Regions from separate parts of the Homo sapiens genome. Here region 1 is linked to region 2. Evidence: promoter capture Hi-C in 16 types of primary human blood cells and fetal thymus (Javierre and others, 2016). All regions are on one chromosome and are shown on one strand. Each heading gives the region's core, a stretch centred on a gene start or on the middle of the fragment in contact. The rest is flanking DNA. Distances are from core to core; before and after follow the strand shown. Region 1 holds the start of SART3 (spliceosome associated factor 3, U4/U6 recycling protein). Region 2 holds the start of SUDS3 (SIN3A corepressor complex component SDS3).

Region 1 (5,684 bases), core at 1,253-3,752, 9.8 Mb before region 2:
CTCCATCTCTTCTGTTTGCCCCCTCCAAAAAACACCCTACCCTCTCCTCCCTGCCCTGTGTCCCCGAGTATAGACCTCATGCACAGGTTTCCTGGCTCTCCAGCTTCCAGATGGGTCTGCCCAGCAGGAGGCACCAGCAGAAGTTTGGTGGGAGGAAGAAAGAGAGGTCAGGGTATTTCTTCCCCCACCTCAATCCTTGACAGGAAACTGGGGCTGCTTCCCTTGAACAAAGTTATCAGCAGGTCTCAGGTGCCCTCTCCACACAATTCAGATCACACCCTTCACCCCTTCCGGCCCAAAGATGGACACCAGGTTCTGGAGTTACCAGCTATGGGATACTAAACCTTCACTCCCGATTTCCCTACCCACACCTTTATTGAGTTTCTCTCAGATCATCCTAATTTAAATGTGCCACCTATTTCCTGCTGAGATCCTGGATTATACAGTAGATATCACCACCTCATAAGGTTACAAGTGAGAGACCATGTTATGACTAGATGCTAGGCACTGAGCTATAGTTACTGTTACAACAATTATATTATGCAGAAATTGTTGCTCCCAATCTGCAGATAAGGAAGTCGAGAGGGTGAGAGAAATTAAGAAATTCTTACAAGCACATACAAGAGTTGAACAGCTAGAACTGAGGCCTTAACCTCCAGAACCAGAAACCTTTCCATTTCTATTATCACCATCGCGGTCAATATTTTTCTTACCACAAGTTTCATCATCGCCGTCATTCCTACATAACAAAATAACACTCTCTTGCGAATGAGTTTATTTCTACTGTTGGACGTGTGGTTAAGAGTGGGAGTTCTGGAATGGGATCAAAGTACAAGGCCTGACTTGCAGGAAGTGTTATCTTGAGCAAGAAACTTTCCTCCACGAGCCTCAGTTTCCTCCAGTAAAATGGGGATAGATAACAGGGCTTCCTTCACAGGGTCGTGGCGAGGATTCAATGAGATAACGTTTGCAAGGCAATGGGCAGGCAGTAAGCACTCAAATCCGACAGGAGCTACTGTCACGAAAAGCGGGTTTGCAGCCTTGGCGGCTTTATCGCCGCCGAGGACTAGGGAGGCGGGCCAGGACATGGGGACCCGAGGACCTGAAAGACTGGAAGATGCCCGCTGCCCACCCCCGGGCCCACCTGCTCCTCCAGTCTCTCAATCTCCAGCTGGTTTTTCTCCTCCTCTTCGTCATATTCCCACTCGTACTCCCCGGGGGAGCTCTCCGCGGAGGAAGCCATGGCGTACTCATCCCCATCGCTCTCGCTCACGCCTTCCTCCTGCTGATCCCACGCTGGCCCCATGGTCTTGTATGTCGCAGCGGCCACAGCCCGCGATAACACCTTCCTCCTTGTCCTAGCCGCCTTAACCTCATCCTCCTCTCCGTCAGCCTTGGGCCCAGCCTTGGACTCAGCCTCGGGTTCTGAAGCCGAGGTTTCGGCCGCAGTCGCCATCTTGCGCTTCTAATGACTCTCGGGTCTTCCCGCGGCCGCCGAAGACCCGCTGAGGCAGAAGCTGCCCGCGGCGCGCGCCTTATCAAAAACCCGTTTTCTTGCCATTGAAAGAGAAACTGGGAACTTAGATAACAGGAAAATCTCCACATACACTAAATTCACATTATTTTATACCCTGTAAAAGCTCCCACCAGATATAAAAACTCATTATAATGGCATGCGTTCCGTCACAACTTCGGACAGAAGTTGGGTCTTTGGGCAGGAAGTGGAAGCCATAGAGGAAGTCATGGAGCGAGAGTGATGTCTGTAGTGAAGAATTTGGCGCCATCTTGAGAAGGTCAAAGTGATTCTTCGATTAAATGCCTTACTTATCGCCTAGTGTGACCTGGCGCTTGGGTTTACTCTCCCCAGCAACTGCGCCTCAAACGCAAAGAAAACTGCAGGTCCTCGGGGAAGGATCGATTTCACCATTCAAGAGAAAAATCCATTTCCCAGATTCCTCCCCTTTATGTAAACGTCTGGTACCTAGTAGACGTTAAATACACGTGAGTTTTCCGGTTTTATAAGATCACATACTGCAAACCAACAGTAAATTACATTAATACGCATTTCTTTAGAAATTCTTAATTGCTAGGCACTGACATATAAATTGAGTTTGCTGTTGTTTTAGAGAGAAAAATAGACATATTCATTTTTTTTCAATCAGGACATGGTATTCGTTTCCTTCTTAAGCTTCCCATTTTTGAGGTAGGAAAGTATTGGTGTGTGTCTCTATCTCTACCTTGCTCCCTCATTAGCAGGCTTAATGGGCAGGAATTATGTCTGTTTTGCTTTCCGTTGGATCCCCGGGTCTAGTAGAGCGCCTTGACACATAGTAGGTACTCGACACAGATGCTGGCTTCATGATGAAGCAATTGTCCTCGAATTAATACAAAAGGGAAGATTCAGACTCAGCGAGCCGGTACCATTCGTCTAGGGACACACAGCCAGGAAGGAACCGAACCAGGATTCTAACCCAGGATTACCCAAGTTCGAATTCTAATTGAACATAAGTCCTTAGCGACCTTGGACGGACTTACTAAACTGCCCTGAATCTCGGCTTCCTTAGCTGCAAAATAGGGTTAGGAAAAGTGGACTCGGTGCTCCTCTGCGCCGCATTCCCGCAGCGGGATTTGTGAAAGCGAACTTGAGCCCCACACTGCAGAAGCCCTGAGGTCCTGTCTCAACCAGAATCCAGCACCCAGGACAAGCCCTCCAGCGACTTCAGACCTTCCCGCTCCCGACCCCGCCCGCCCCCGAGAGGCGTGGTCAAGGCGGGGCCAGAAGGCGGACGCGTGCACGGAGCGGTAAAGCGCAGGCGCAAAGCTTCGGTGACGTCAGAGAGGCGCGCTCCCAGCTCGGAGCCGACTCGCAGACGCGCCCCGCCCCTCGGCGTCGCTCTGGACTGGCGCAGGCGCAAGCCGGCAAGATGGCGGCGGCTGGGGCTTTCCGTCTGAGGCGGGCGGCATCGGCTCTGCTGCTGCGGAGCCCCCGCCTGCCCGCCCGGGAGCTGTCGGCCCCGGCCCGACTCTATCACAAGAAGGTAGGGACAAAAGAGGGACGCGCGGAATGCCGACTCAGCGGAGGCCTGGGCTGGAGGGGCGGCCGCGGGGTTCTGCGCAGCTAGGACTGGGAGCTGTCCCCTCCCACGTCTTTGCCCTGACTCGCTTTCCCTTGCTGCGCAGTGAGGCTCACTGCAACTGATAAACAACAGTTACCGCTCATCGGGCGGCGACTTCCAGGGGGCCCCGCCGCTGGCCGCGACTTCGTGCGTCCCAATTTTAAATTCGCCAACAGCCCAGGAGGCAGGGTCCTGTTGGGACTTGTCTTTCTGAGTCCAGGGACAGACACACCCCCGGAGCGGGCTCCGGCTTCAGCCACTCCGCTGCCCTGGCCAGATGACCTTGGGCTAGTCACTGCGCCTCTCTGAACCTGTTTCCCCAGGTGTAAATGGGGGGCTCTCAGCTGTCCCTTACAAAGGATACTGTGCGTGGAGTCCTGGCATGGTTCCTGGCACATAGGCCCCAGCACGAGGAGACCGTTTCTGTTACTGCTTTAGGAGTGCATAGGGGAGTCAGGCTTGTAACCAACATGCGTAATGTTTTTGTTTTGTTTGGGGGGTTTTTTGGCGGGGAAGGAGGGATAGATTCATAGTCTGCAGCCCCTTGCTGTCTGGTGGCACAAAGTCCCCCAGACGTGAGACTCCCACTCGAGAAACAACTAAAGAATGCCATAAATCAACGTGGCACAAAAGGCCCCTACATTAGATACTATCCTGAGGTCCCTTTTACTTGGAGTCAAAATCCTTAGTCAGATGGGGGGAAAAGGGGACTGGAAGATCGGCGTGCTTACTACTAACCAGTAACCAAACCTCAAGGTTATTAAGGCCTTCTGTGTGCCAGTTCGAATGGATGTTTATTGTGATCTGGCTTCTGCCCTTTCTCCAAGGGCTTCTTCACTCCTCCCCCTCCCGGGGGTGTGTTTTGTTGAGGGTACACCCTGAAGAAACTTGGACTAGCAGCCTTTCAGCAGCCAGGGTGCGCTGCTGCACCAGGGTGATGACAGGCTGTGAAATACGGTAATGGCACTGTTTTTATTTTAAAAGACACATAAACGTACACATTCCATAGCATTGTTCCCTGTGTAACAGTCACCTTAAGGCTTCTAAGAAAGCTTTCCCTCCCTGGGCCATGGTTATTTTTAGAATTTTTAAATAGTAATCATCCTTTGAGGATGGATTTTATTTGAAAATAACAAAACTGCTGTTTGAGCCCAAGTCTGGTGATGTAGGTGGGTGAAAGTCAAGTATTTTTGTAAAAATCCTATGGAACTAAGACATGATTTCACTGATTTTTTTTTCTTCTAGGTATCTCAAATCTGTGAAGTATTGTAGAGGAGACACAAAAGGAATTGGGGGTCACAAATGGTTCTCATTGACATGAGTGTAGACCTTTCTACTCAGGTGAAATTTGGTATTTAGTGATTGCCTGCCAGGTTCAAGATGCTGACCGAGGAGCTTACCATCAAACCAGAGACCAGTACCAATAGAGAGTGAACATGATTTATCTTAACCCTCTCATTTTAGGTTGTTGATCATTATGAAAATCCTAGAAACGTGGGGTCCCTTGACAAGACATCTAAAAATGTTGGAACTGGACTGGTGGGGGCTCCAGCATGTGGTGACGTAATGAAATTACAGGTATGGCTAGTCTTTTTTAATAGTGATAACAATAATCCCTTTAAGTTTACAAAGCACTTGCGCATTTCACTTGGTCTCCATCTTTATTCCTGTGAGATCTCCAAGCATTTCACTTGGTCTCCATTCCTGTGAGATGGGATGAGTCCATGTTAGATATGACTGGAGCAGGGCCTCAATCGTAGCTCTCCTGCTAGGCTAGTGTACTATGCCAACTTTTTCCAAAATAGAAAAGTAATCTCATTTTTGTACTCACTGTATCAGTTTAAATTCTGACTTCAGCCAACTAAAGAGTTTTGTGAATTTTACTGATCAAAGGAAAATCCCAGTGAGCTAGCAGTCCCCAATGAAACAAGAAACACAGTAAATTAAACCTGTCCCCAGATTGGGGGAAACATGAAAATAGTGTCTAGTGCTTTGGGTAAACTGTAGTTGTAGCACCAATCTGCTGCTTCATGGTGAGTGGGCAGCTTGCCAGAGGTCTTCATACCTATCTTGGAATACAGAAACAAAACAGGAGGAAACCACTAAGTGTAATCTGCTGCCCAAGAAAAAAGTATTAACCAGAGACCTTTATTGTGGACTCTGTCAGTGTTTAAAGAGGCCAGATTGCCCCAGCAGCTGTGAGCAGACTTCCACAAATAGAAGTTCATAGCCAAAATGCAGGCCAGAGTCACAAAACAAAAGAATATTGGAGTGGAGGGACATATTTTTCAGCTGATCTTTGTCAGTTGGGCCTGGATAGTTGTCCCTGCATTTCACTTTTCATCACTGAGCTCTTTGAAACAAGGCAAAGTCAGTAATTAATGCCATCACTTAGTGTGGAAAGCAAGCCCAAAGCCCTTGGGGAAGGCCCTGGTGAACCTTCGTGAGTGCCAGGTTCCAGAGGGTGGTCCCAGGACTCACCACTTAACTCTTGTCTCTTTTCTAGATTCAAGTGGATGAAAAGGGGAAGATTGTGGATGCTAGGTTTAAAACATTTGGCTGTGGTTC
Region 2 (5,980 bases), core at 1,380-3,879:
AACTGCTTTCCTTACTCTTAACGCCAAAAGTAAGTTTATGGACTTTAGAATTTAGCATTTTATGAAGAAATTGTCTCAGGAACACATTTTGATCCTAAGTTTTGTCAGATGTATACAGGCCTTAGTTCTCAGAGAACCCTCGATTGTTAACTTTTTAACTCCAGCTGACAAAATGTGTTTGTGTTCTAAACAGTATACATGTTTCTTCTAGTGTTTTAAGAATCATACGCCATTCATCACCTGAGGTCAAGGGTTCCAGACCTGCCTGGCCAACATGGTGAAATCCCGTCTGTACGAAAAATACAAAAATTAGCCGGGCATGGTGGCACCCACCTGTAATCCCAGCTACTAGAAAGGCTGAGGCAGGAGAATCACTTGAACCCGGAGGCGGAGGTTGCAGTGAGTCGAGATCGCATCACTTCACTCCAGCCTGGGTGAAAGAGCAAAACTCCGTCTCAAAAAAAGAAAAAAAGAAAAAGAAAAAAAAGAATCATACTCCATTCCAATTGTGATGTCCCCCTTTAAAGTTTCAGTTTGGGTGTTAGGGTAGGCAGAGAAGGCCTGGAAGCAAAGAAGTTGTGGAAATGGGGCTGGCAGGGCTTCGTTTCAAGTCAAGTCGAGTTCCTGAGCGGTGTGGCTGAGTACCGTTTTGAGAAGGGATATATAAAAAGATTTCAAGGTGGTAAAACTTGGTTTTGAGGGAACTTGATTTTTACAGGAGTATAGCGACTGTCCAAAATCATATTAAATAAATCTAAAGGTTAGGTAAGACTAAAGCCATAAGAGAATTTTTTTGAGTAGGTCCACCTTCACTAAAGAGCATTTTTTAGTTCTGCAGCTGGCAATCTGGACAGAAAAAAATGGGGTAAGTTTTCATAACCCAAGTGCTCAGTTGTGTCTATTCATTACATATAAAAAAGAAATGCATGACCATTAACAGATGCTGTTTGCAGTCAAGAAGACAGCAGTAAAACATAAGCAGGATAAAAATCTCAGCGTCTTGAAAGGAAACCATTTAGCAACGAAATAAACTTAAAAATTAATTGTATCAATGAACTCTTGATTTCTAAAATCTTTGCTTTTTCTGCACTATGATTACTGCTACTGACAGGAACGCAAGTTACTCAATATAGTTGATTGCAAGTAATTTAGATGTTCTCCAACAGCACAAAGAAAGAAAATGACTTCATCTTTTGGACAAGAGACAGTTCTGGAATCCTAGTTTAAATATAGATGGCAGACCTACGGTGCGATCTGAGAATGATTCTTATTTAGAAGGGGCTTCAGAAGATCTCAGAACTCCTGGAAAGACATCTTAGCATTCCATTCTGGAAATTCTTTAGTTTTGTTGGGAGAAAAAATCACTTACAAATAGAGCCAAGATTTTAATTAAAACAAGGTAGTAAATAAATGTCAAAATAAGTGGGATGAGAATAACGTTTCATTTTCAGAAGAGTCCATAGGGAACAATTCAGAGATAAATTTAATCACAAAAGGTCTGAGAATGGGAATATTCGGTTCCACCCTGGTTTTCACATCTGTTCATTTTCACTACTGGTTGCGTTTCCTACGGAGACTCGGGTGGAACATAAAAGTGGGGCTACTTTGGACAAACCATTAAAAACCTTACCCTTTTTTCTCGCTACACACAACTAGACCACATTGCTCTTAGCTAAAGGGACACCTTAAATCTATTCGTTCAGCAAAACTTATAACACCGTGTTCCTTTTCTACTCAGAGGGAATCGCACAAATTAATTCTTGCAGATACTCAGCTCTCCTGTTTTTTAAGCTTCCACGTGGGCCTTAGCCAAATAACTTCTGGTAGGCAAATTCTCCCCTTCTTCAGTTGAGAGCTCAGAGCAAGCTGTTGGATTAAGCAAAAGCACCTTTTAAAAAATTAATATTCAAGGCAGCTGTACCGCGGAGGGCCTGGGTCTCGGAGTCTAAAAAATCAGACTGGACGTTACTATTTTTTTTTAGGCAAACGACAGCTCGTTTCTCATTTGTAAAACCGGGGGAACATCTTACCGAATAAACCTTACACAAACAGAAAGGATTCCTAAGGGCTGGGAAAATACTATTTTGCTGTCCCCAGGATGGAATATCAGCATCCTTGTCTTTTAGCTCTTAATAAAGCTCTAACTAGTCACAGGAGGAGCCAGGCTGCATGATCACGCACACTCTGGACGTCTAGGTTTTCCGACCTAATAAGGGGGCAGGTCGCGTCGTTCCCTGCTTAAATTAGAGACCACCTCCACCTGCCAAGGGCCCTTCAAACCCTCCGCCCCTAGGTCGCTAACGATCACCGCTTTAGTTCTAGCTCCAGGCGCCGCCTGGCGGCTGTCTCCGGAAGTCGCCTGCGAGCCTCGGGGTCCTGACCGCTGCTGGGCCTGCCCGTAGATTTGCCTGACTCTAGCGAACCTGGCTCCGCCCCTCCCCCACTATACGTTGAGGATTTTAAGACGGCGATGAAAGGGCTGAGGTTGTGGCGACGGGGGCGTCCAGCGGCATCTCCACTCCCCCAAGGATGGCGGAATCAGGCCGTTGTCGGGCAGCTCTCGACCCGGAAGTCGCTCGCGGCGCGAGGCCCCCGTTGCCGAGCGCGGGCGCGGGGGGCGGAGCTCGGCGGAGACGGGGAAGGGGTCGCCGTGGCTGCCGGTCCTCGAGTTGGGGGCTGCCGCGGACACTGCTAGGCAGACGGCGAGTACCGAGCGCGGGTGGCCGCGGTGTCCGTGGGCCACGCTCAGCTGCGGTCAGAGGCGACATGAGTGCCGCGGGGCTGCTGGCCCCGGCCCCGGCCCAGGCTGGAGCGCCGCCGGCCCCCGAGTACTACCCCGAGGAGGATGAAGAGCTGGAGAGCGCCGAGGACGACGAGCGCAGCTGTCGGGGCCGCGAGTCGGACGAAGGTGAGTCCTGCCGCTCGCCCGGCCGCCCGGAGCGGAGGTGGGACCGCTGGGGGAGGGGGTGGGGCTGTTCGGGAGAGGGGCGGGGCGGCCTCCGGGGCCTGGGGCTGCGTGGAGGGGCCGCCGGGAGTTGCGGGGCTCGGGGAAGTTACCCCCATCCGTGCTGGAGTAGCGGGGAAGCCCTGGGTGCGTTACACTCGACCGTGATGGGGAGAGGGGACTTAGATGTTGTCACGCTGGGGGTCCCTTTAAGACCCCGTCCTCCCTCCCAGCCGTTTCTGATTGAACCTCACTCACTAGTAGGAATTAGAAACTCATTTACTGAATACATCGAGTGTAGTTCGCCCCTTTTTTGTGTGTGAGAGCATCAGAGTCCAAAGTTGCCCCTCCCCACCCCCGAAATGCATAAGTCATCTATACTTTAGGTAGTACACTATTGAGAACTCAGGTTGGTTAAAGGAAAGGGACCTAGAACCAGCCAGATACAGGTTTAAATTTGGCTTTGTCACTTAACTCAGCTTTGTAAACTTAAGTTTTCCAGCCTCGATTTACCCAACTGTAATGGAGCTGTTTAATTCCCACACCTGCCCTAGAAGGCACTTCCTAGGGTCGGTATAGGGATTAAATGACATGCGCATAAAGTACTTGGCCTGGTACTGTAAATACTCCGTAAATGTTCTCCCCACCCGCCCCCCTCCCGGAAACAGGTAAGAGAGGGAGAGATTTGCTTAATGGTCCCCAGGTGTTGTGTTTTCAGTCCCACGCTCTTTGCACTGTCATCACAGAGTCTCAGAGCCTTGCTTTTCAAACTGGGCTTTATAATTTGGCAAGTGTGAGGAACGCTATTTTGGAGGGATGGAGGAGGAGGAAGGTGATGAAATGTGAGAGATCAAGGGAGGAGAAATAGGAAACAAAGAGAGACCGATATATGAGCGGAATATTCTGGGACAAAATCGGGCCGTGGAGCAAAAGCTAGACCAGCTGTTTGGAATGGGGCCTACGTTTTATTCATCTGAGTTTCCCGAGTGCCAAGTAATGTGGCTGACCATGACAGGAACTCAGGGAAGGCCTCTTGACTGAAGGAGGGGAGAAGGGTTTGTGGGGAATTGGATCTGCAACAGCCTTACAAAAGACAGCTGCATATGCATGACATACAAAGTTGAGGGACTGCATTCGATTTAATTCCATCAGAAGACACGGCTTAACCAGAGATTTTGAATGTGAAGCACTTGCACTTCATCTCATACCCACGAGGGGGCGCTGTGGAGCCAAAATTGAGTTTTTTTTTCCTTCCAGTATAGGGGCTATTAAAATTTTGTACACACCCCAGCCATTAGCTTGTTCTAAGAACAATGTTTAAGATGTTCTGAAACAGTTTTCGTTTGATCATCTGGCCTCCTCCTTGTTCCCTTTAGTTGTAACTTGGAAAATATTTATTTGTGTCAGATTCCCCTTTTTTATTGTATACAGTTGGCTCTGCGTATCTGTGGGTTCTGCATCTGTGAATTCAACCAAGCGCAGCTCAAAAATATTCAGGAAAAAAATTGGATCTGTACTGAACATGTGCAGACTTTTTTTTTGTTATTCCTAAACAGTGTAGCGTAACAACTACTTACATAGTATTTACATTTTATTGGATATTGTAAGTAATCTTTTTTTTTTTTTTTTTAAGATGGGGTCTCACTCACTCACCCAGGCTGGTGTGCAGTGTCACGATCTCAGCTCACTGCAACTTCCATCTCCTGGGTTCAAGCAGTTCTCCTGCCTCAGTCTCCGGAGTAGTTGGGATTACTGGCACCTGCCACCATGCCTGGCTAATTTTTGTGGTTTTATTTGTTGTTTTGTTTATTTTATTTTTTTTTGAGATGGAGTTTCACTCTTGTTGCCCAGGGTGGAGTGCAATGGCGCGATCTCGGCTCACCACAACCTCTGCCTCCCGAGTTCAAGCAATTCTCCTGCCTCAGCCTCCTGAGTAGCTGGGATTACAGGCATGTGCCGCCACCCCCAGCTAATTTTGTATTTTTAGTAGAGACGTGGTTTCTCCATGCTGGTCAGGCTGGTCTCGAACTCCCGACCTCAGGTGATCCACCTGCCTTTGCCTCCCAAAGTGCTGGGATTACAGGCGTGAGCCACTGCACCTGGCCCTAATTTTTGTGTTTTTAGTAGAGATGGGGTTTCACCACGTTGGCCAGGCTGGTCTGGAACTCCTGTCCTCAGGTGATTCTCCTGCTTTGGCCTTCCAAAGTGCTGGGATTACAGACATGAGCTGCCATGCCTGGCCTGGATATTCTAAGTAATCTAGAGATGATTTAAAGTGTACTGTTGGCCTGGTGCAGTGGCTCATGCCTGTAATCCCAGCACTTTGGAATGCGAAAGCAGGTGGTTCACTTGAGGCCAGGAGTTCGAGACCAGCCTGGCCAACGTGGCGAAACCTCATCTCTACTAAAAATACAAAAAGTAGCCGGGTGTGGTGGTGCACCCCTGTAATCCCAGCTATTTGGGAAGCTGAGGCAGGAGAATCGCTTGAACCCAGGAGGTGGAGGTTGCAGTGAGCCGAGATTGTGCCACTGCACTCCAGCCTGGGCGACAGAGTGAGACTGTGTCTCATTAAAAAGAAAAGTATACTGGAAGATGTGCGTAGGTTATATGCAAATACTATGCCATTTTGTCAGAGACTTGAGCAGCTGAGGATTTTGGTATCCACGGGAGGTGCAGTAACCACTCCCCCACGGATACTGAGGGACAACCGTGTATCCTGATGTAAAATGTGCGAAGGGTTCCAACTGGGTATGTATCAGAAGAGAATGTACATACTAGTTTTTTTCTGGAGCAGCGAGTAAGGCTTGACTGCCTGCAGTGTCCAGTCTTACGCCTGCATCTCCTTTCTTGAGTTGCCAGCATTGTTGTTTCTGCAGAAGTAGCAGCCTTCACCATAACTGCCTGTGCCTGAGACACCCTATTCTGTGGCTGCATTTCAGGTAAAGGCAAGCTTTTTGCATAAATCTGACTGTAAGTTGGAAATGGCCTTTTCTTTTCTGAAGTACGGCTGTCCCTCGGTATCTATGGGGGACTGGT

Evidence for each region. Contacts are between HindIII fragments. The CHiCAGO score rates a contact against its expected background, and 5 or more counts as called.
Region 1: a fragment that was not itself captured here is called in contact with the fragment with the promoter of SUDS3 in region 2 in 3 of 17 cell types (naive CD4 T cells, fetal thymus and non-activated CD4 T cells); the score reaches 12.5 in naive CD4 T cells.

The regions. Positions count from the first base shown.
Region 1 is chr12:108,559,699-108,565,382 of GRCh38, forward strand. It overlaps SART3 (spliceosome associated factor 3, U4/U6 recycling protein), which reads right to left and starts at 1,475. Exons shown (of 19, transcript NM_014706.4): 1 at 1,145-1,475. The coding sequence starts at 1,456. ISCU (iron-sulfur cluster assembly enzyme) reads left to right here and starts at 2,898. Exons shown (of 5, transcript NM_213595.4): 1 at 2,898-3,038; 2 at 4,581-4,694; 3 at 5,623-5,684. The coding sequence starts at 2,925. RefSeq lists enhancers at 1,554-1,613, 1,624-1,723, 2,578-2,637, 2,708-2,787, 3,318-3,387 and silencers at 2,998-3,117, 4,078-4,127. The HindIII fragment of the contact is 633 bases long and covers 2,187-2,819 here.
Region 2 is chr12:118,373,926-118,379,905 of GRCh38, forward strand. SUDS3 (SIN3A corepressor complex component SDS3) reads left to right here and starts at 2,630. Exons shown (of 12, transcript NM_022491.3): 1 at 2,630-2,908. The coding sequence starts at 2,767. It overlaps LOC124903031 (a long non-coding RNA gene), which reads right to left and starts at 2,202. Exons shown (of 2, transcript XR_007063480.1): 1 at 2,031-2,202; 2 at 1,373-1,866. RefSeq lists silencers at 2,627-2,846, 2,877-3,026 and an enhancer at 2,685-3,185. The HindIII fragment of the contact is 4,103 bases long and covers 1,790-5,892 here.